Regions from separate parts of the Homo sapiens genome. Here all the other regions are linked to region 2. The links are contacts of gene promoters, found by promoter capture Hi-C in human tissues and cell types (Jung and others, 2019). All regions are on one chromosome and are shown on one strand. Each heading gives the region's core, a stretch centred on a gene start or on the middle of the fragment in contact. The rest is flanking DNA. Distances are from core to core; before and after follow the strand shown. Region 1 overlaps CFAP410 (cilia and flagella associated protein 410). Region 2 holds the start of ITGB2 (integrin subunit beta 2). Region 3 overlaps COL18A1 (collagen type XVIII alpha 1 chain). Region 4 holds the start of TRPM2 (transient receptor potential cation channel subfamily M member 2).

The links. Contacts are between HindIII fragments. The study calls those that stand out against the background at their distance.
Region 1: a fragment that was not itself captured here is called in contact with the fragment with the promoter of ITGB2 in region 2 in 1 of the 25 tissues and cell types used here (spleen).
Region 3: a contact is called between a fragment that was not itself captured here and the fragment with the promoter of ITGB2 in region 2, in 3 of the 25 tissues and cell types used here (dorsolateral prefrontal cortex, heart left ventricle and spleen).
Region 4: the fragment with the promoter of TRPM2 here is called in contact with the fragment with the promoter of ITGB2 in region 2 in 1 of the 25 tissues and cell types used here (spleen).

What each region holds. Positions count from the first base shown.
Region 1 is chr21:44,331,201-44,334,907 of GRCh38, reverse strand. CFAP410 (cilia and flagella associated protein 410) reads left to right here. Exons shown (of 7, transcript NM_004928.3): 4 at 1,646-1,875; 5 at 2,894-3,065. Among named protein-coding and RNA genes, the nearest start is that of CFAP410, 6.3 kb to the left of the region's middle. RefSeq lists enhancers at 2,539-3,038, 3,039-3,540. The HindIII fragment of the contact is 7,900 bases long and covers 1-3,707 here.
Region 2 is chr21:44,917,766-44,923,303 of GRCh38, reverse strand. It overlaps ITGB2 (integrin subunit beta 2), which reads left to right and starts at 2,405. Exons shown (of 16, transcript NM_000211.5): 1 at 2,405-2,483. ITGB2-AS1 (ITGB2 antisense RNA 1) reads right to left here and starts at 2,269. Exons shown (of 3, transcript NR_038316.1): 1 at 1,977-2,269. RefSeq lists a silencer at 3,755-3,814 and an enhancer at 4,898-5,538. The HindIII fragment of the contact is 46,650 bases long and covers 1-5,538 here.
Region 3 is chr21:45,457,893-45,463,433 of GRCh38, reverse strand. The region is part of intron 2 of COL18A1 (collagen type XVIII alpha 1 chain); the gene reads right to left. Among named protein-coding and RNA genes, the nearest start is that of MIR6815, 18 kb to the left of the region's middle. The HindIII fragment of the contact is 3,893 bases long and covers 550-4,442 here.
Region 4 is chr21:44,351,476-44,357,531 of GRCh38, reverse strand. It overlaps TRPM2 (transient receptor potential cation channel subfamily M member 2), which reads right to left and starts at 3,911. Exons shown (of 32, transcript NM_003307.4): 1 at 3,667-3,911; 2 at 2,796-2,884. The coding sequence starts at 3,831. RefSeq lists enhancers at 3,436-3,485, 3,646-3,695. The HindIII fragment of the contact is 21,861 bases long and covers 1-6,056 here.

The sequences.
Region 1 (3,707 bases), core at 879-3,378, 590 kb after region 2:
GCCCCTGCCCATCCTCCGTAATGCCCTCTGAGGTTGGCATTGCCATGTTGATGCCCGTGCCCAGCCTGCTGCCCGCCATGGGCTGAGGCCAGTCCATCTGGTGTTCAGGCATCCCCAGCGCGGGCACCAGCCTGTCCTGCCCGAGCCTTGCTGAATGAATGAAATGGGCTTGGAGGCATGCTCATGGGTCAAATCTCAGCCCTCCCATCTATTGGCTGGCTAACCTTGGGCGAGGCATGGCCCTCTCTGTGCCTCAGTTTCCTTTCTGTAACATGGAGGTATTACAAGTGCCCACCCCACAGGGAGATGAGGAGGAGATGGAGCCCGAGTCCAGAGGTTGAGCAGGGGTGCGCGTGCCCGCCCAGAGGTTGAGCGGGGGGGGGGGGGGGGTGCGCGTGCCCGCCCAGAGGTTGAGGGGGGGTGCGCGTGCCTGCCGCGGGGCTCGTTTCACTAGTCAGGCGACACAGTGAGGCTGGGATTTCAGGCCTGCCTCCGAAAGGCTTACCTGACAGGGAAACGTGGAGCTTGTGGTTCCCACGGTGGCAGGAAGCTTGGGGCGGGGCTGTGGATCCAGCCCTATCCCTGCCGCTCACTGAGTCACCCAGGGGCCACAGGGCCTCCGAGCATCAGGCCGCTCGTGTGTGGGGCCATTTCTGTCACATCTCGGGAGGGACAGGACCCCAGGGGTGTTGACCGAGCTCAGGTGCGTGGTGCCTGCACGCCTGACTGCACTGGAGCGGAGCAGGAAGCCTCGAGGCCGCGGACGCGGTCGGTACATCACGCTGCTGCCTGTGCCTGAGGCAGACCCCATCCTGGAAAGAGTCCCACAGCCGGAGTTTTGCTCTTGGTAAAATGGGGCGGCCTCATAGCTAGGAGCTGCATGAGACCTGGGAAACCCCGAGTGAAGGGATGGCATGGGGAGGGGGGCTCAGGACGGCAGGCTGCCCATGGGGGCCTGGTGACCGCCCTTCTGAGGCGCCTGCCGGACGCGAGTGCAGCCCTCCAGGCAGGGGGCCCTGGCTCCGCGCCTTTGAGGGCCTGCGGGAGCGGCTCCGCGTGTTCGCTTGTGGAGGGGACGGACCCCACGCTGCAGGGTAAAGCCTGCAGGTCCCCGCTCCAGGCCTGCTGTTTCTCTTCTCTGACGCGTCCACGTTCTGTAGAATGGAAATGAGGCCCATCCCCAGTGTTGCCGCCCTCAAGTGGGGGTTTGGAAGGTCCGTGCTCACTCCCATGTCACGTGGAGCTGGCTCCTAGTTTTTGCCATGAGTTTTTCTGGCCGCTCCCTGCTTTGGGGCAACATGATATGTCCCCTGAGAGGCCTTAATTTTCCTCACCTGTGAAGGAGGGCCACATCCCCCACCTCCCGCACTCTAGCGCCCTGAGGAGCTGATGTGGAGCGTCGGGCCAAGGGGCTGTTGCTGGTGGGGTCCACCCCAGTCCGCCTTTGAGTTCAGGGCCTGGCCTTCCTACAGCTCTCTCCTCGGCCCAGGTCCTGCTGCACGTGACTTGTGACATCCGATTTAGGCTTCTCAGGAGAGGGCAGGGACACAGGTCCCATGAGTGCCTTTTACTGGGGGTGGGGATTGAGAGGTGGCCCTGGGGGCCCTGGCCACGTCCCTCGCTGACTGTGCTGGTCTCCGTGCAGTGTCAACAGCATCTCCACCCTGGAGCCTGTGAGCCGGTGCCAGCGCCTGAGTGAGCTGTACCTGCGGAGGAACCGCATCCCCAGCCTGGCTGAGCTCTTCTACCTGAAGGGGCTGCCGCGTCTGCGGGTGCTGTGGCTGGCCGAGAACCCGTGCTGCGGCACCAGCCCCCACCGCTACCGCATGACCGTGCTGCGCACCCTGCCGCGCCTACAGAAGCTGGACAACCAGGGTAGGTGGCCGCAGCGGAGTCACCGGCCCTCCCAAAACAATCCCTGGAAGGGGATGTCCCCAGCCCTCTTTTCTCTTCTCCTTTTCTGCAAATACCTGGTCTGGCGGGACATAGATGTGTCCTGTGAAGTCTCCTCCAGAGGCTGTTCCCCTGGCTTCTGTGTCTCCTCTTGATCCCGCCACCCGAATGCAGCAGCGCAGCGTAGGGTCCCTCCTGGGACTGACAGTTTGGGTATCCCCCAACGACCGCAGGACCTGGTAGCAAAGCAAAAGGGTTCCTTCTTTTGCTTCTGTGAGTAGCAGCCCTGCTCTGACCATCGCCATGCGCCATGGCGAGCGGGGGCGTCAGTATCTGGCAAGCAGCATCGCACTGGTCCACAGGGACTGGGCAGGCTCCACGGGCCACTGTGAACCTAGGGTGGCGGTGCCATCGCGCCCCTGCCGTGGGGAGGGGCCGTCCCAGCACCGCAGTGCCTGCTGCTGCGCTCCACCTATTGGAGGCACTCGTGCCTCCTCTAGCCAGCGCCAGCACCGACACAGTTTTCCAGGCTGTGGTTTCATGCTGTTTGTTCATCCTTGGCATTCTCAGCACACTAGTGTCTCATCCTTGTCAGGTATACAGACACCACTATTTTCTCCCAGACAATTTTATTGATATTAATAATATAAACTTCAGGGAAATTGATATATGAGAGAAATGGAATAAATTCAATATGGTCTGTTCCTTTTTCTATTGTGTCTTAGTTGAGGTTTTGAGGAGTATTTGCTTCTGGCCAAGGCTGGTGTTGAGATTCCTGAGCAGCCCTCCACCATCTGTTGTGTGTCAGCCTGTGCCAGGCTGGGGATGGGACAGTGAGGAACCGGCTGCTACTCTGGGAGTTGTCCCTGGAGGTGGATACACGTGCATGCATTTCACAAGCAGACTGTGCCTGAAGCCACAGTGAGGACGGGAGCTGCAGTGCATGTGGCCTGCACGTGGGTGAGGCCACTCATGCTGTCTTCTGTCTTTCATCCCAAAGCTGTGACGGAGGAGGAGCTGTCCCGTGCACTGAGTGAGGGAGAGGAGATCACTGCGGCCCCAGAGAGAGAGGGCACAGGCCACGGCGGCCCCAAGCTATGCTGCACACTGAGCTCCCTCAGCTCCGCTGCTGAGACTGGCCGGGACCCGCTGGACAGCGAGGAGGAGGCAACGTGAGGCTGGAGGGCAGCGGGGACTCCGCAGCCCATCCCTGTCCCCCAGGGTCCTCCCACGGGGAGTGAATGGGGCTTCCCGTGAGCTGCGTCTCTGGGAAGTGAGGGACAGGGATTATCCGGGGGGAGTGTCTGTTCTCATCCATATTCTCTGGGAGTGACTCAGTGCCCAGGTAGTGATTTCAGTGGCAGGTCCATGTTTTGCCCAACAGCGGATGTGCCAGGGAGCAGGAGAGGGGGTGAGCCAGGCCCCGTGCCCTGGCACAGAGAAGGCTCACAGCACCAGAGCTCGTGAGGTGCAGGGAGCCCCTGGTGGGGGGGGTGGCCTAGGGCCACAGTGACTGGAATGGTTTGTGGGCACGGCCATCAGTGCCCGTATGGCCTTGGGCCTGGGGGCCGTGGAGGGGCCACAGGGCTGACTCTGCAGTGAGACGCCGGCGCCTCCCAGGGCAGTTGGCAGCGGGTCACGAACGCATTTGACAGAAGCTGGGCACTTCTCTCCTGCTTGGCAGATCACACCCGCTGCTGGTGCCTGTGGTGGGGGCATCGGGATGTGATCTCTGTTAGGCATCTGCCATCCGGCACAGGGCCTGACCCCATGGTCAGGAGCTCTCCCCCGGCATTTGTGTGTTCGGGTGCCCC
Region 2 (5,538 bases), core at 1,156-3,655:
ATTGGTTCTATTAAGAGATTAAATCTCTTAATCTAAAGGGTCTCTCTCCCTTCGTCTCTCCTCTTGTACTGTGCTGTTTGCCTTGTGAGGGTTTCTTCAGCCTGGATTTTGCTAATTGCATCCCTACGATGTCATCTAACACACCCTCCTGATGCTTCTTTGTAGATCTAAAAAGTTCGACCTGATTCAGGCTCAATAGTAACATTTGTTCTTTCTATTTTTCTTGATTTCTATTGTTATTTCATCAAGACTAATTCATTAAAGGTGTGTGCATAACGTCTGCTGCGTCCGTGACGTTCGCAGCGAGGGTCATTGCTTACTTTAAGTCATCAGCGGGTGTAGTAGAATGGTATTCTCTTTCTGTCCTTCTTCATTATTTTCTAGGCTAAGTCTGTAATGAGAAGATACCCTTGACAGAGAACATTTCATTGGAACTTGTTTTGTCTCTTTATTTCTAAAACCCAACGCAAGACCTTGTTGATTTAAAACAAGAAAATGTAACCCATTCACAGGTGCTGTGATTCCTGATGGGTTTGAAATTATTCCCAATGTTTTATTGTTTGGTTTTTATTTACCTTTCTTGTTTGTTCTATTTTCCCTTACTTTTTTCTTTTAAAGGATTTGCCTTTTTTTTTTTTTTTTTTTCTCAGTTACCCAGACTGGAGTGCAGTGGTGTAAGCATGGTTCACCGTAGCCTCAACCTCTTGGGCTCAAGCAATTCTCCCACCTCAGCCTCCCAAGTAGCCTGGACCATATCGCGTGCTACCATGCCTGGCGAATTCTTAGAAAATTTTTTTGTAGAGATGAGGGTCTGGGTCTCCAAATGTTGCCTAGGCTGGTCTCGAACTCCTGGGCTCAAGTGATCCTCCCACCTCGGCCTCCCAAAGTGCTGGGATTACAAGTTTGAGCCACCATGCCCAAAATAAAGATTTGTCATATTTTTTTTCAGGTATATACATGCTATTTTTATTCTTAAGGAGACTCTTGAATTGTTAGCATATATACTTAGATATTTTCTATCAAAATGCCCACTGACAAGCATCTATATTCCTCCCCAGATAGGATGGAACGGCAATGTGCTCCCTGGCCCCTCCCAACCCAGTCCTCTAGGCGTTTTGTTTCACAGCGTTAATATTCTTACCACTATTTTTTAAATCAACAGGTTATGACATCATAATTTTTACTTATTTCTTTGCCCAACTTTGTATCATCTGCTCTTGTATTTCTCATGGATTTCTTCATGTCTATTTCTGCAAGACATCTTTAAAACAGAGTTTAGGAGCCGGGAGCCATGGCTCACGCCAGTAATCCCAGCACTTTGGAAGGCAGAGGTGGATGGATCACTTGAAGCCAGGAGTTCAAGACCAGCCTGGTCAACATAGTGAAACCCTGTCTCTACTAAGAATACAAAAATTACCCAGGCGTGGTGGTACATGTGCCTGTAATCCCAGCTACTTGGGAGGCTGAGGCAGGAGAATTGCTTGAACCCGGGAGGCAGAGGTTGCAGTGAGCTGAGATCACGCCACTGCACTCCAGCCTGGGTGACAAAAGCAAAACTCTGTCTCAAAAAAAACTGAAAACATAAAAATAAATAAATAAATAAAACAGAGTTTAGGGTAGTAATGTGTCTGAGTCCTTGCTCTGAAGATGTCTGATTTGGGTTTTTTTTCTAGGTATAATCTCTTTCCCTCCTCTTCCTCCTCCTCCTCCTCTCCCTTCTCTCTCTCTCTGAGCCTGTAGTATTTTCCCTTTCGTGTTCTGTGGTATCCTCCTAATGTCCCTAGTTAACAGGACCTCATCCATCCATCCCTGGGGTGTTCAGTGGCCTCGCAATCCACGTCCCCGCCCAGATCCGCAGCCTTCCTCCTGTGACCTGAGTGTCTCCTCCTCGCTGTCCCTGTTCTGTCCCCTCCCGCCCTCACATGCAGGTGGATGTCAATGCGTGCACGCACCCAGGTTTTCTTGCCTGTTCCCACCTCTTTATCCTCCTTGGCTGGTTCCTCCGCTCCATTCTCTGGCTCAGGAATTTGCTCCCCAGGGTTTTTCATTCCGCTCTGTAGCAGAATGTGCTACTGTTGCTTTCCAGCATCAAACTTTTCACTCCCATGGCCTCTGTGTTCTTCTTCCTAATGGGTGCCCTTTCTGCCTGGCGCTCCTGGAGGCCGGGCCCCTCTCCCAAGTGTGAATCTGATGGAAGCAGGTCCTTCTCGCCGGGACCTCATGTGAGAAATGACATGTCCCACCTGTCTCAAGGGGCCGCTCTCTGACATCAGAGCTGCTGTAGAGCGGAGAGGGGCAGGGGTGAAGGGCCACGGTGGTGCAACCCACCACTTCCTCCAAGGAGGAGCTGAGAGGAACAGGAAGTGTCAGGACTTTACGACCCGCGCCTCCAGCTGAGGTTTCTAGACGTGACCCAGGGCAGACTGGTAGCAAAGCCCCCACGCCCAGCCAGGAGCACCGCCGAGGACTCCAGCACACCGAGGGTGAGTGTGCAGAGGCCCCGCTATGTCCACGGTGATTTTTGGAGGGAAGCACTCTCCTGCCCCAGCCTGGAGTGACCCTGGTGGCCCTGCTTATAGCCCCGGCCCAGGGGTGTCTGGCAGGAAGGGGTCTCCAGACCGTCTGCTCCAGGGTCCCCTTTGAGACCCGGCAAGGGGAAGTGCCTGCCACCAAGAGCAGAGCCACATGGTGTGCTGGGAGCGCTTGCGGCTGAGGATGGGGCCGGCATGGGAGGACAAGGGGCTGTGAGGCCGGCAAGGCCAGGAAGAGGCTGGGCCCACAAGCCCCTAGGGGGACGGCTGGGGGGTCCTGGTGCTCCGGGCTGGGCAGGAGGCAGGTTCCCGGGGCCTCCTCTGTGAACCTGCTGCGCCTGCCTGTGTTAGGCCCTCCTGTCTGCATGCTGCCCCGCCTGGCTACAGCGATTCCATCTCCAGATCGACTCGCAGTGTGTGGTGTGTGATATGGTGTGGTGTGGTTCGTGGTGTGTAGTGTCGTGTGTGTAGTGTGGCATGGTGTGCATGTATGGTGCACGTGTGTGGCATAGCGTAGTGTGGTGTGTGTGTGTGCATGTATGGTGTGCGAGTGTGCGCATGTGATGTGGGGAGTCTGTTGTATGTACATGTATGGTGCACATGTGTAATGTAGTGTGGTGTGGTGTGGCACATGCTCCATGCTCCTCTGGGACCCTCGAGCTTCCCTGCCTCCTCCGTGGGGACCCCTGGGTGACGTCTTGCTGTAGGGGAGCGGGCACCGCTGTGCGATTCTGGTCGAGTTGGTTCAGCTGGTGACCCTGGCCTCCCCACAACAGGCTCCTGGAGGCCATTCCCAAGGTCCTGGTGGGAGGGGGATTGAAGCCACGCCCCTGGGTCCCAGGCCCACCTGGCCCCCTTCCCCCAACACTGCACTCTTGGGGCCAGCCCTCCCCATGCATCCTCCACCCCTGGCACCACCCCTTGCACCACCGTCCCCACACCCAATCCCCCCTCCCCTGGATCTGGGAGCTGGGATTCTGCCCTGCTGTCCCTGTCCATCCGGGGCCCCTCTCCTCTGTCAGTTCCTGGGTGGGGAGAAGGAGGGGTGGCATGGCTGCAATGGGGAAGGGGGGGGATGGCCGGAGAGCTCAGCCTGGGAGCGAGCTGTGGGGGCATAGGGGACACTCGCTGTCACTCGCCTTCCCCGTGACGGTGGCGCAACGCCTGCGGGTTTGGGGGCTGAGGCCGGATTCTGGAGGCTTCACAGAAATGAGCTGCTAGAAGCTCTGGGCTGTCTGCCGTCACCCCAGCGTTTCACCATGAGTGAAGCCCAGCTCACTGCAGAATCCATGCCCAGCTCACTGCAGAATCCCCGGGGGCCAGCACTTTACCAAGAGTGGCCTCCAGACTCCACATTTTAGGAAGGAACTCCTTCCCCATCCAGCTCACAGCAGAATCCCCAGGGTCCCTGCCAGCCTGGCACCCAGCGTGCCCCTCAGTATTCTGGGGATGAGTGGGGGAGTCCCTCTGCTGGGAAGAGGTCCCTGGCTACGTCCCTGCAGGGCGGCGGCTGAGCCCATGCCTCGGCCCCAGGGCCAGTCCCCGCCGGGTGCCATCCTGAGCAGGGCCACAGAACAGATGTCCCACATGGCCAGGACCCCTGTGGCCACCTGACCCCGGGGGGGCTGTGGCCCTCGGTGAAGCAGGTGACCGGGCGGGCTGTGGGGTTTGTCAGCTCCGCAGCGTCACTGCCGCTCAGCGTATGAGTTTCCACTCCCAGCACTCAATGAACAGCTGAGCAACTGCAGGTGCCTCCGAGTGCTGGGAGAGGGGAATGCTCAGCTCCGAGTGCTGGGAGAGGGGACGCTCAGCTCCGAGTGCTGGGAGAGGGGACGCTTAGCCACCCAAGGGCCTTTGCCTCAAGGGAGTAAATAGGGGCATTTCCTGGTGGGCGTGGGCTGGGCTGGAGAAGCAGGGCCTCCTGGCAGGGGCTGGCATGAGATCCAAACACTGCCCAGGCAGCTGGACACTCCTGAGCCTGGAGCTTCTCACCTGAACCACAGGGTGGTAACCCCTGCCCCTCAGGCGGCATCGACGTGACCTGCCTAGTGCACAGTGAGCCTGAGGCAACACGGCCACCACCAGGAGACTCCCTGGGGAAGAGGCCCCCAGACAGCGAGGTGCCCATGAAGGAAGTTCTGCACAGGGGCCGCGGCCATCCAGGAGATGGGAGGGGCCCTATCTGCACCCTGTCTGGAAGGGGCATGGGGTGAGCAGGCTATTTGGTCCCCCGTGACTCAGTTTCCCCATCTGTGAAACAGGAGGGGTGGTCTGGCCAATTGTGCGCACTCCAGCTGTCTCTATAGTCAACCGTGTAACTTGAACTCACTTCCCCAGGGCTCCTGCCAGGCCCAGGTCTGTCCACTCTGGCCCAGGCCGGGCCCCACCAGGTACCAGGGCTGTGGGACATTTGCCTCTGTGGATGGGGCAGCGTGACGCCTGTGGCGATTCCATGGAACAGGTCCTGTGTGGGCCCCCCTTGCTGCACTCGTGTCCTGTGTCAGAGAACCGTGGTCCTGCCTGAGGCCATGTCACCGGAGGCTGGCTCCCGTTCCCGGAGGAGAATGCCAGCTGCCACAGGGGTCAGTGACACAGGCATTTGCCCAGCAGGTACAGGCCAGGTCGCTGGGAAGCCCCAACTCAAGGGGCTCTGCAGTGGGCGCCTAGCAATTATGGAGCTGTGGGTGATACCCACCCCAAGCCGGACCTGGTGCCAGCAATTATCCCTCCCATTCTGCTTGGCACAAACTGGCACTGACACGGGGCATTGATTAGGTGGTTGCATTTGTCGATTCCGAGCCCATGTGTGTGGAGCCCAGGCCCTGAGCAAGCACAGAGGGCCCTGGTGCTGTCCTGAGCTGAGGCCCCTGCCCACCCCGGGCTGCGTGTTCTCTCCGGCCATTCAGGGTCTGAGAGTGCAGAAGAGTTAGCCCCAGGGGAACACCTTCCTGCCCAGCTGATTTGTAAACAGCCTCGCTGGGGACACATGTTGGTGTTGGGAGTGGTG
Region 3 (5,541 bases), core at 1,247-3,746, 540 kb before region 2:
AAGGCTTGGACGGTAACGGGTGGTTAATTTAGCTAAACCCCAGCTCTTGGCACAATAGCAGCCACACATCCATCCTCCACCCCCATTCCCATAGCAGGTGCCATGCACGAGTTCCTGGAGCAGCAGCCACACAGCTTGTGGGAAACAGGACGGCAAAAAGGACCCTGTCCTGCAGACATCGAGAACCTGTGCTCTGATCAGGTTGCCTGGGATCACAGATGTGCAGACAGGGAGGTGGGGCCATTGTTTTACACTCCCTCTGTTGTTGCAAGCTGCCCCTTCCAGCTGAAGTGACTTGAAGGGGATTTAGAGGGCTGGCACTGTTTTTTCTCCCTCATTTTTATCTTATTCCTCCTTTGGGAGCCAAACATGAAAGAACGGGACATTGAAAAACAGCAGCATGTAAGAGGAAAATTAGAAAGTGGCTGCACACACCCAGGGAAAGGGACAGGCTCAGAAAAGACCTGAGAAGACCTGAAGTTCACACCTAAGGGAGATTTCTGGCACAGACACAAAACATTTTTTAAAAAGTAACAAAAAAAAGCGAACGCTGGTGAAGGGCAAAATTCAAGAGCCACATTACTGAGTTCAAATGTTCACTTTTTAACACAAAATCACAAGGCACACAAAGCAATAAGAAAATATAGCACATTCAAAGGAGAAAAATAAATTAACAGAAGCTGTCTCTGCAAAAGACCTGATGGCAGATCTACTAGACAAAGACTTTAAAATGACTGTCTTAAAGATGCTCAAAGAACTACAGGAAGGTGTGGAGAAAGTCAAGAAAGTGATGTATGAACAACATGGAAATATCAATATAAAAACCTTGAAAGAAACCAGAAAGAAATTACAGAACTGAAAAGTACAATAGCTGAAATTGAAAACATCACTAGAGGAATCTGAAGGTGATTTGAGCAGACAAAAGAATAAATTAATGAGCTTGAAGATAAGATAATGGAAATTTTCAAAGACAAAAGATGAAAGAAAGGTGAAAAGAGCCTAAGGGGCTTGTGGCCACCATCAAGAGACAAGGAAGCATGCATGCCGTGGAAGCTGCAAACAGAAGAGAAAAAGAAAGGTGCAGAGAGACTATCTGAAGAAATAATGGCTGAAAGCTTCTCAAATTTGTTGGGAGACATGAATATAAACAGTTAAGAGCTCAGGGAACTCCAAGTAAGGTAAACTCAAAGAGACTCACACCAAGTTACATTATCATCAAACTTTCAAAAACAGAGAGAGAATCTGGAAAGCAGCAAGAGAAAAGCAACTGATCACATCCAAGGGCTTCTTAATAAGATTATCAGCAGATTTGTCACAGAAACTTTGGAAGCCAAAAGGCAGTGGACCAATATATTCAATGTACTAAAAGAAAAAAAAAACTGTTAACCAAGAGTCCTATATCCAGTAAAACTGTCCTTCAAAAGTGAGGGAGAAATTGGCATTCCCAGATAAACAAAAGCTAAGGGAGTTAATTGCCACTAGACCTGCCCTGCAGAAAATGGTCCAGGGAGTCCAGCAGGTAAAATGAAAGGACACTAGTCAATAACAGTAAGTCACATGAAGAAATGAAGATCTCAATAAAGGTAAATACATGGGCAATTATAAAAGCTGGTATTGCAACAACAGTTTGTAACTGCACTTTTTATGAATGAACCTGGAGGATATTAAACTAAAGGAAATAAGGCAGGCATAGAAGCAAATACTGCATGATCTCACATGTGGGATCTAAAAAAGTCACATTCATAGGAGCAGAGTAGAATGGTGGTTGTCAGGGGCTGAGGTCTAGGAAGGACAAATATGCGTGTGTGCCACAGATGTGGCTAGCAAGGAAGCCTCGAGGGGGGCCCAGCAGCCTGGCTCCAGACTGCTCTTCAGCATTGCAGCAGATGCAGGACAAGGAAGAGCCCTGCAGGGGGGCACCAGGAGACCAGCAGGTGTCCACCCTAATGGTGCAGGCCATCTGATAAGGGGTAGGGACTGGTGCCGGATGGACGGTGCCCATGCACAGAGTGGGGTGCAATGGGGCACAGCTGCCACCCCACTCTGTGCATAGGCAACGGGGGCCTCCTTGACTTACTGTTACTGAGTAGTGTCCTTTCATTTCGCCTGTTGGACTACTGGACCATTTCCTGCAGGGAAGGTCTAGTGGCAATTAACCCCCTTAGCTTTTGTTTATCTGGGAATGCTAACAGGGCACAGCCGAGGCCAGCCCACAGAGAAGAGGAAATGTGACTGTTGGTCGAAGGGTACAAAGTTTCAGTTATGCAGGAAAAGTAAGTTCTAGAGGTCTAATGTACACATGGTGATTACAGCTAGAATACTGTATCGCATATGGCACTTCAAACTTGAGTAGATCTTAAGTTTTCTCACCACACTCACAACGGTAACTGGTTGAAGTGATAGATGTCCACTAGCTTGACCTTAGATATATACAAAAACCCAAATATACGTAAAAGGACCTGCAGGAAGCCCTGTTTGGAGTGCTGTGCTTTTCATTCTGTCTGTGCTTAGTTCAGAATCACACAAGATCTTGTACCCACAGACAACTGCACCCAATGCACTGGGCCCTTGACACTCCAGTAGGAGTTAAATGCTGAGTCACTCTTGGTGCATCTAAGAGGCATGGAGAATTTACGAGAAGCTTAGCCAGCATCATCGAAAAAATATTTGTAGGTTGCCAAGCGGTGAGAGATAAGCATGAGTTATTTCCCAGAGTGGTCTTCTCCCTTCTTAAACCAAAGTTACATGGAAACATCAAACAAATCAAAGCATTTTAAGGAGAAGGGACATTTTCTCAAATTCTGCATTTGACTAAAGGAGCAAGAGGTAAGCACCATATAAGGACACCTGTGTGCCAGTGGCTGGCCCATGGGGTAGGGAGGAGCGATGAAGGAGCAGCCCCTCGGGGCCATCATGGTGACATGACCTTCACGTGCACTCCCGTGGCCTCCCACTGACCTCCGAATGTCCAGTGATGGGGGTGGAGGCAGAGGAAGCCCCAGCCCAGGGGCCTGTGCACCACTTTCCAAGATCACGGGACTCGTGCATTTGAGATGAGCGACTTGGCCGGCGTGTGTGTGGACCTGCCTCCCGAGCACCCCGGTGGCAGCTGTGCCCAGTTGCGCCCCACTCTGTGCACAGGCACTATCCATCCCGGCACTGGTCCCTGCCCTCATCAGATGGCCTGCACCACGAGGGTGGATGCCTGCTGGTCTCCTGGTGCTCCCCGGCTGGGAGCTTGCTTGTCCTGCATCTGCTGCGATGCTGAAGAGCGCTCTGGGGCCAGGCTGCTGGGCCCTCCTCCAGGCTCCCTCCTTGCTAGCCACACTTGCGGCACGCACACGTGTCTGTCCTTCCTAGGCCTCAGTTTCTCACCTGTAAACGGGAACAATACGCAGCTCCCAGGTCAGAGGATGCTTGCCTGTAGGACTCCTTGGAAACATCACCTGCCTCCGGTCCCAGGGGCCAGGGTTTGTGAGAGCTCAGGAGGGGTGTAGAGAGCAAAGTCCAGAGGGCCAGGCACCCGTTGCTGTTGTGGGGTGACACTCCCACAGCCCTTGTGACCTGAGCTCCATGTGTCACTCACAGAGTCCCACTGAGACAGCCCAGGGGGCTTCCTGGAGGCAGTGTCCCGGGCAGCCCAAGCCCAAGCCCCGCTCGCTCACTCTTGGCAGCTGCAGCAAGGGAGCCTCCCTACCCCACCCCGGCCCTCCCGTGTGAGGGGGCCTCACTCCCTTCCTCGTGGACCTGAGGGACAAGCCCACAACACAGCAAAACCCTCCACAGGGTCCCTGCTTGTGTGCTGACCACAGGGTTCACCCTCCCTTTGAGCGCCCCCCACGCCCCAGCACGGCTGCACTGTCCCCCACACTCTCCTCGAGGTGGGCCGGCGGGGTGGACACACAGGGCAGTGCCCAGGACGAGGTGGAGGGGGCGCTGGAGATGGAGCCGGGCAGGAGGCAGCAGGACCCCTCCAGCTCCCCTCCCCTCAGGGGCACATACTCCCTGATCCCTGGAGATGCAGCCAGGGACCTCTGTGGGCCTCGAGGGCTCTGTTCTGGTGCCCGGATCACAGCCCAGCACCCCCACTTTCGGGGCCTCGAAGTCTGCCCGAGGGGTCAGGCTGGGCTCCCCCTCCTCCTCCTGCCCCTCACCCAGGGCTGGGAGTGTCCAGCCCAACATAGGGGTCCGGCAGGAGTTGGGGCTAACCCAAGAGGAGCCTGGGCTGGGGAGGAGCTGAGAGGCCAGAAGAGGGGGCAGGACCCTCCCGGCCAGGCCACACCTGGGAAGGGGCTCCTTGATAAAGCTTGAGGCCCACCCCTGGCCAGAGGCAATGCAGGCCAGGAACGCTGATGGAGTCCCCCAGGACCCTGCACGGGACACGGCCTCCCTCGCACGGGGACGCTACCAAGCTGTCCAGATGTTCAGTGAAAAGTCCCCATCAGGCTGTGCCACCGACCGGGCCAGCTGCAGTTGCAGAAATTCCTCGCCCTCACAGCCCCACTCGGACCCCAGCCCCCAAGCCATGCAGCTGTGCCCCAACTCCCAGGAGACCGGCACCTTCCCTGAGGCTGAAGCTTGCTCACAGTGCTCAGCTGATCCCAGACAGTCTCGGGCTGGCAGGGCTAGGGCAGGGTCAGGTGTGCAGGCCTGGCGTTTCCCCTCCCACAGGCTGCAGCCCTCCCAGCCCACCGCTGTCCTGTCTGCCTCCGTGGGCTTGCAGTGGAGGACAAGGTGGGCTGTGCTGGAGCCTCCCGGGGCTCCAGGACACCGGACCCGGGTCCCTCCAGTCAGTACGGCTCCTGCAAGGCTGCCCTACCCACATGCTTGGTGGGGAACAGTAGCCAGGTGGGGTGTGGCTCCGGGGGGGTTGCCTGCAAGGCGGCTGGTGCTTGCTGGGCATTTGGGTGTTCCAGGGACGGAGGATGAGTGGGACCCAGGAATCTGGCTGCTTGTGGCAGTGCCAGCTGCCCTGGGGGTGACATCTAAGCCCTGAGATGCCAACATTCGCGGGCACAGCCCCTGCCTCAGAGAGCTCCAGCCCTATGAGATGCCAACAGCCGTGGGCACGGCCCCTGCCTCAGAGAGCTCCAGCCCTACGAGATGCCAACAGCCGTGGGCACGGTCCCTGCCTGGGAGAGCTCCAGCCCTACGAGATGCCAACAGCCGCGGGCACGGCCCCTGCCTCGGAGAGCTCCAGCCCTATGCTTCTGGGGCGCATCCACAAGGGCCCCCACTCCTGCACACACCAGGCCCCCCCAGCGCAGTTCCTGTGCCCCCCTCAGGCTCAGCCAGGCCCCGCTGCAGCCCTCCCTCCCTCCCTCCCTCCCTGCCCCTCCATTCCAGCCCACGTGGGCTTTACTCCTGGGACCACCTGTTGTCAGCACTTGTCCCTGCCCTGTCTGTGGCCCCCCGGCCACTCCCCAGGCCCCACACAGGGTCTGCAGAGGCTCTGGGCTTTGCTGAGAGAAACGGTCACTGGCCTGAAACTCAAGGGGAATCACCAAGCTCGTCATCCCTCACGGAGCCTGGTGGGTGGGC
Region 4 (6,056 bases), core at 2,662-5,161, 570 kb after region 2:
AGAGCCGCAGCAGCCTGCCCTCAGATTCTCCAGACTCGGCCTGTGTCTTTCTCCCTTGCCAAGCCCATCACGTAGGCCTTCACCATGATAAACCTTAGCTGTGTGCACAGCTGTGAGTCCTAGCAAACCCCTGAGCATGGGGGATGGCTTTGGGGACCTCCAGAAGCAAGTCTGTCCTGCTTACATCTGATCCAGGTCAGCACCCCTTCCTCTCTGGGCCCTGCTGCCCCAAGGGTTTCCACTTCCATGTGAGAAGCACGCAGAGCCGACTGGCAGAGGCCCCAGACCCACGGGGCCTCACCTAGGCTTCTCAGGACACAGCAGGTCAGGGTGTCAGCGGCGTTCAAACCAGAGTGAGTCCCATCTTGAATAGGCGCTGGGTGAAATGAGGCTGAAACCTGCTGGGCTGCCTTCCCAGACGGTTAAGGCATTCTAAGTCACAGGATGAGACAAGAGGTCAGCAGAAGACACAGGTCACAAAGACCCTGCTGATAAAACAGGGTGCAAGACACTGGGTAAAACCCACCAAAACCAAGATGGCGACGAAAGTGGGCTCTGGTTATCCTCGCTGCCCATTACACGCTAATTATAACATATTAACATGTAAGAGACACTCCCACCAGCACCATGACAGTTGGCAGATGCCATGGCAACATCAGAAATACCCTGTATGGTCTGAAAGAAAGAGGAAATCAGTTCTGGGAAATCCCCGCTCCTTTCCCATAAAACTCATGAATAATCCACCCTTGTTAAGCACATGATCCAAAACTACCATAAAAATAGCCAACCAGCCAAGCACGGTGGCTTATGCCTGAAATCCCAGCACTTTGGGAGGCCAAGGCTGGTGGATCACCTGAGGTCAGGAGTTCCAGACCAGCCTGGCCAACATGGTGAATCGCATGAACCTGGGAGACGAAGGTTGCAGCGAGCCAAGATCATGCCATTGCACTCCAGCCTGGGCGACAGAGCGAGACCCCGTCTCAAAAAAAAAAAAAAAAAATAGCCAAGCAGCAGCCCTCAGGGCTGCTCTGCCTATGGAGAAGCCATTCTTTTATTCCTTTACATTGTTAATAACTTGCTTTCACTTTACTCTGTGGACTCGCTCCAAATACTTTCTCGTGTGAGATCCAAGAACCCGCCCTTGGGGTCTGGATCGGGACCCCTTTCCAGTAACAAGGGTGAGCTCCGAGGCTGGAGTACCACTGCTCTACAGACCCCGCTCCTTCCACATGGGGCTCTTCATCACTGTCTCTACATCCAGCCCTCCATGGCCGCGAGTTTTGCATCTGCAGATTCAGCCAAACGCAGACTAAAAATATTCAGGAAAAAAAAAACAATTAAAAATAACATAGCCAGATGCAGTGGCTCACGCCTGTAATCCCAGCACTTTGGGAGGCCGAGGCGGGTGGATCACCTGCCTCGGCCTCCCAAAGTGCTGGGATTACAGGCGTGAGCCACCGCGCCCGGCCCAAAAATACAAATTTTTTAAATGCAGTATAACTATTTTTATAACATCTACATTGTATCAGGTATTATAAGTAATCTAGAGATGATTTAAAGTATGCTGAAGGATGTACATAGTTTATATGCAAATACCACACCATCTCATATCAGTGACTTGATATGAGATTTTGGGACTGATACGAGATATGGGATTTTGGTGTCCGTGGGTGTCCGGGAACAATTCCCCAGGGATGCGGAGGGACAGCTGTTGTATTGGTGACCGTGAAACTCTGATGATGTACCGAGTACACTAGAGGTACCCTGGGGCAACACAGTCTTCTTCTATTTCCCAAGCACAGGATGCTTCTCCCTCCCCATATTCAGTAAATATGAGCTGAAGGCCACTCTCTGGGAATTAACACAACACTCTGCTTTCGTCCCAGCCCCCCAGAAGCTCAGCAGCTAGCAAGAAAGATGAACACAAAGCCACACAGTTACAGCACGACAGCTGGGATCAAAGAGAAACACACGGTGCGGTAGGAGGGAAGCTCACTTCCTGGTAGAGGTTGTATAGTCACGGAAGGCTGCACGGCAGAGGCAGCATCTGCAATAGGCCTTGAGGGATAAGTAGGAGCTCACCAGGCAATGGAGTAAAAGGAGGAAGCGTGTGGCCCATTTGTGGAAGAGCATGAAATGGGTGTTGCTCGGGGAGGGCACACAAACATGAATCAACACTCTGTCCGTGCCTAAAGGGGCGCCAACTGCGGGGAGCACCATCGGCTCCGGAGGGCCATATCCAGCCACTCAGAGACAGTGGCCATGTTGCCTGGGCGGGGGTCTTGGCCACACCTGAGTCGTGGGCTCTGTGGGGAGGAGGGGCAAAGGGGGCTCTGTGGGGCCTGGGGGCAAGTCGGGCCTCTGGCTTTGGCAAGCTGTGCAGGGGGGCAGTCTTCTGGCCATGGACTCTCCCTAAGGCCCTTCCAGTTCCTGGACCCTGGGACTCTCTCTCTTGGGGTGGGGGCAGGTGTGGAAATGAGAGGATTAGAGGATGCATCTGTGTTCACACCACTGGGCCTCGCCGCGCGACAGTGCCCTTATGACCCTGAACAAGTCACCTAAACTCTGCACTTTGGTCCCTGCACCTGCGAGGCAGGATGAGGGTCAACTGTCCCCGACAGGAGGCTTGCAAGGGTTAGGTGGAAATGCTCTGTGGACTCTAAGCCTCGTATGGAGACAGAGGTATCTCCAGTGACCCTTCACTGAGGCCCTGAGGGGTCTTGGCCTGATCAGCTACTCCATGTGGGATCGGAAGGAAGAAGTCAGAGGTCTTACACACAAATCACGTCACTTACCCAGCATCAGACAGTTTGGAACTTTCCACAAAATACACGCATTCTTTCTTCTTGATGTTTTCAGGAATCCACGAACTGAGGCTTTCTTGCTGAAGGTAAAGACAGCACACTGAGATCTTCCAACATTCGAAAGAGCACACCCAGCCCCCTGGAGACACATCTGAGCTCCTTGAGGAGCTTTCACACTATTTGCTTGAAGGAAGGAAGCCTGCGCGACCCTGAGCCAAAGATTAGAAGCACCTTGCCAAGACTCTCCGGTGGGGATTCAGGAGGGAGGAATGAATCTAAGAAATCATTTCCTCTTGGGACCATTTTGAATGTGCGCGCACTTTACAGTTTCTACAGCACCACCACCTTCCTTGGGAACAACATGGTGTGGTGGAAAACGTGGAGGCTGGGGATCTGGGGACCTGGATCTTGCACCATCGGAAAAAGGGCAGCCACCCTCCTGCCTGCCTGGCAAGGGGACTGCAAGATGCCATGTGCTTTCAACATACTTGTGTCTTTGTATCCAGGGCTTTGGGGAAAGCTAGCCCAGGCCCAGGCCCTCCCAATCGGATAAAGGATGTGAAATCATTATGCAACAAGGTAAGCACGGGTAACAGATTTCCAGGACTCTAGCGCAACATTTTTGAGTTAACCCGGTGATTTCCCAATCAGACCAACCATGGGAAATGGTCATGCAACCCACAGAAGACGAGACACGCATCACCCTCCCCAGTTCTGTTCTCCCAAAGGTATGGTTGGGCAGGAGCCCCCAAGGTCAGCAGACCCTTTCCCACCCCCGTCGTCACAGCCTCAAGCTATGACCTGCCCAACGGTGACCTCCGTGGCCACGTGCCAACTGCAGGCTGACCAGCAGAAAGCCTACCTTGTCATTGTTGCCGAAGGGGCACTGTAGCCTCCAGCTCTTGAAGAGGCTGCTGTTGCTGCGCCGGAGATTGGAGACCATCCCCAGGTCAGTGACCCTTCTGGGCAGCCCCTCAAAGCCCTCCTCCTGCTCCGAGCCAGCTTTCCTCAGGGCTGAGGGCTCCATTCTGAGACCCCCACGCCAGCTGCAACCAGGCCTGCTGCCCTCAGGACAGTCCTCTCTCCAGCTCGCTACACTGGGGTTCTAGAGACACATGGGGTGGTTGCTGAAATAGATCAGAGACAGGAAGATGAGGCTGATGTTCTGAGAGGACCTGGCCACATGCTTCCTCATGTGAAGCCCTCATCCGGTTCTCTTCATCAGCCTGCACATGTTCCCAGCTGCCTGAGCTGTGTCCCTTGGCTGGGGCCCCCGGACACTCTGGGGGAGTACATGCACATGCGGGGGTCCCAGCGGCCGTTCATAATGGTAACAACCTCAGGTGACTGCAGGGCCAGAGAAAGAGCTCCCTCCCCCACGGGTGCAGCTGCACTGAGCACCGCACAGGGAAGTCTCCACCGCCAGCACCAGCTGCCAGCGACATGGTTTCGCAACTGTACAATTCTGCACAGCTCCTGCTTCCAGACACCAGTGACTACTTTCATATTCCAAAATTTTTTTAAATAGCCCTCACTGTCCACAAAGGAAGTTTCTTTTTCTTCTTGTTTTTTGAGACGGAGTCCCACTTTGTCGCTCAGGCTGGAGTTCAGTGACGCAGTCTCGGCTCACTGCAACCTCGGTCTCCCTGGTTCAAGTGATTCTCCTGCCTTAGCCTCCCCAGTAGCTGGGATTATGGGCGCCAATCACCACACCCTGCTAATTTTTTTTGTATGTAGTAGCAACAGGGTTTCACCATGTTGGTCAGGTTGGTCTCAAACTCCTGACCTCAGGCGATCCACCAGCCTCCGCTTCCCAAAGTGCTGGTTTTACAGGCGTGAGCCACTGTGCCCAGCCTAGAAAGGAAGTTTTGGGGAGTACCACATCTCTCCACTCCAGGAAAAAGACAATAATTCAAATGAATCTTTTTCTCTCATATCCTTTCCCCCTGGCTCTGATGTGGCCTTCATCACCGAGGCCACAAGAAGCCACCGGATGACTGCCCTCCCTTTACAAATGAGAAACATAAGCATGTTCAAGCCCTGCGGGGCCTCCCTGAGTCCCTGACACCCACAGTGTTCTCATGAGGTCATCCATGGTCATCCCCTGCCACTGCCCCAAAGGTGTCAAGGGGAGGGTTGCTGGGATGCAAAAGATCTGACTGGAATCCCCCCTCATCCCTGCCCTGAAACCAGATCTCTGGCCACGTCCTCTCCACTACACACGACGGTCACTGTCAGACAAGCCTTTGCTCTGCCGTCCCCTCATCACATTAGGTGACTGAGCCCCTCTTCGGGGCCACGCAGCTCGAAGCTCGGTGCCGGGCTCTTGGGGCTGAGCTACGGGCTGCTGTCCTGGGGCGGGCACTCTCAGGCAACCCCACCTCCCCCTCTCCCTCCTCCCCTTTGCCCCTTGGCCACACTCATTCCGAGACCCGTAAACTTCACTGGCAGGATGGCAGGGGTGCCCTGCCCGGCCTTTTCCTGCAGTTCTCAGAGCAGATGTTGTGCCGCATGCCAGTGGGGTCTTTCCAGGGCCATGAGCTGTCCCCGCAGCCACTGGCCCGGCTTCACAACCAGCTTCCGAGGGAAGCAGAGGGGCAGAGATGTCCCCAGTGGCAGGAGGAAGAGGAGGCTCTAGAGAGATCGCAGTGGCACCGCAAGGGGACCCAGACTGCAGGTGGCTCCCCAGGCAGGCGGTCCACCCTGCACGGGATGAGGATGGCTCCACGCTGGAAACGAAGACCCCAGCATCAGACGGGAGGGTCCACGGTGTGGGACTCTCTGCCTTAAGACCAGCATGTTCTGTTCACACGCTCATCTTTCAGGCAGCTGTCCACCTCAGCACAGCCCCTGGGGTCTTGTGCAGGTTCCTCTAATCCCAGAGGCAAGCAGGCCCTGGGAAGCAGGTCAGACCTGCTCCAGCACCACCCGACTTTGCAGGAGGCAGCCAGGAGCCCCTGTGAGCATCTGATGCCCGCTGTGGGGGGGCCAATGGCTCGACCCAGTGCCCAACAGGACGGGTGCCTCAGCCTCAGCCCAGGGGTGCAGAACCCTGAAAACCCAGGCCTGGCAACGACCTTCCAAGGGCCCATCCAGCCCTTTCTGGGGTTCTTCTACCCAAAATTACAGGCTCAATCCCTTTCTCACAAGTCACCTGAGAACAGCTTGGGCCACCCTGGTTCACAGCTAAAATTCTCCACAAGCAACTGGCACAGGTGTGAGTGTTGAGAGCACTCAGGAAATGAGCTTCCA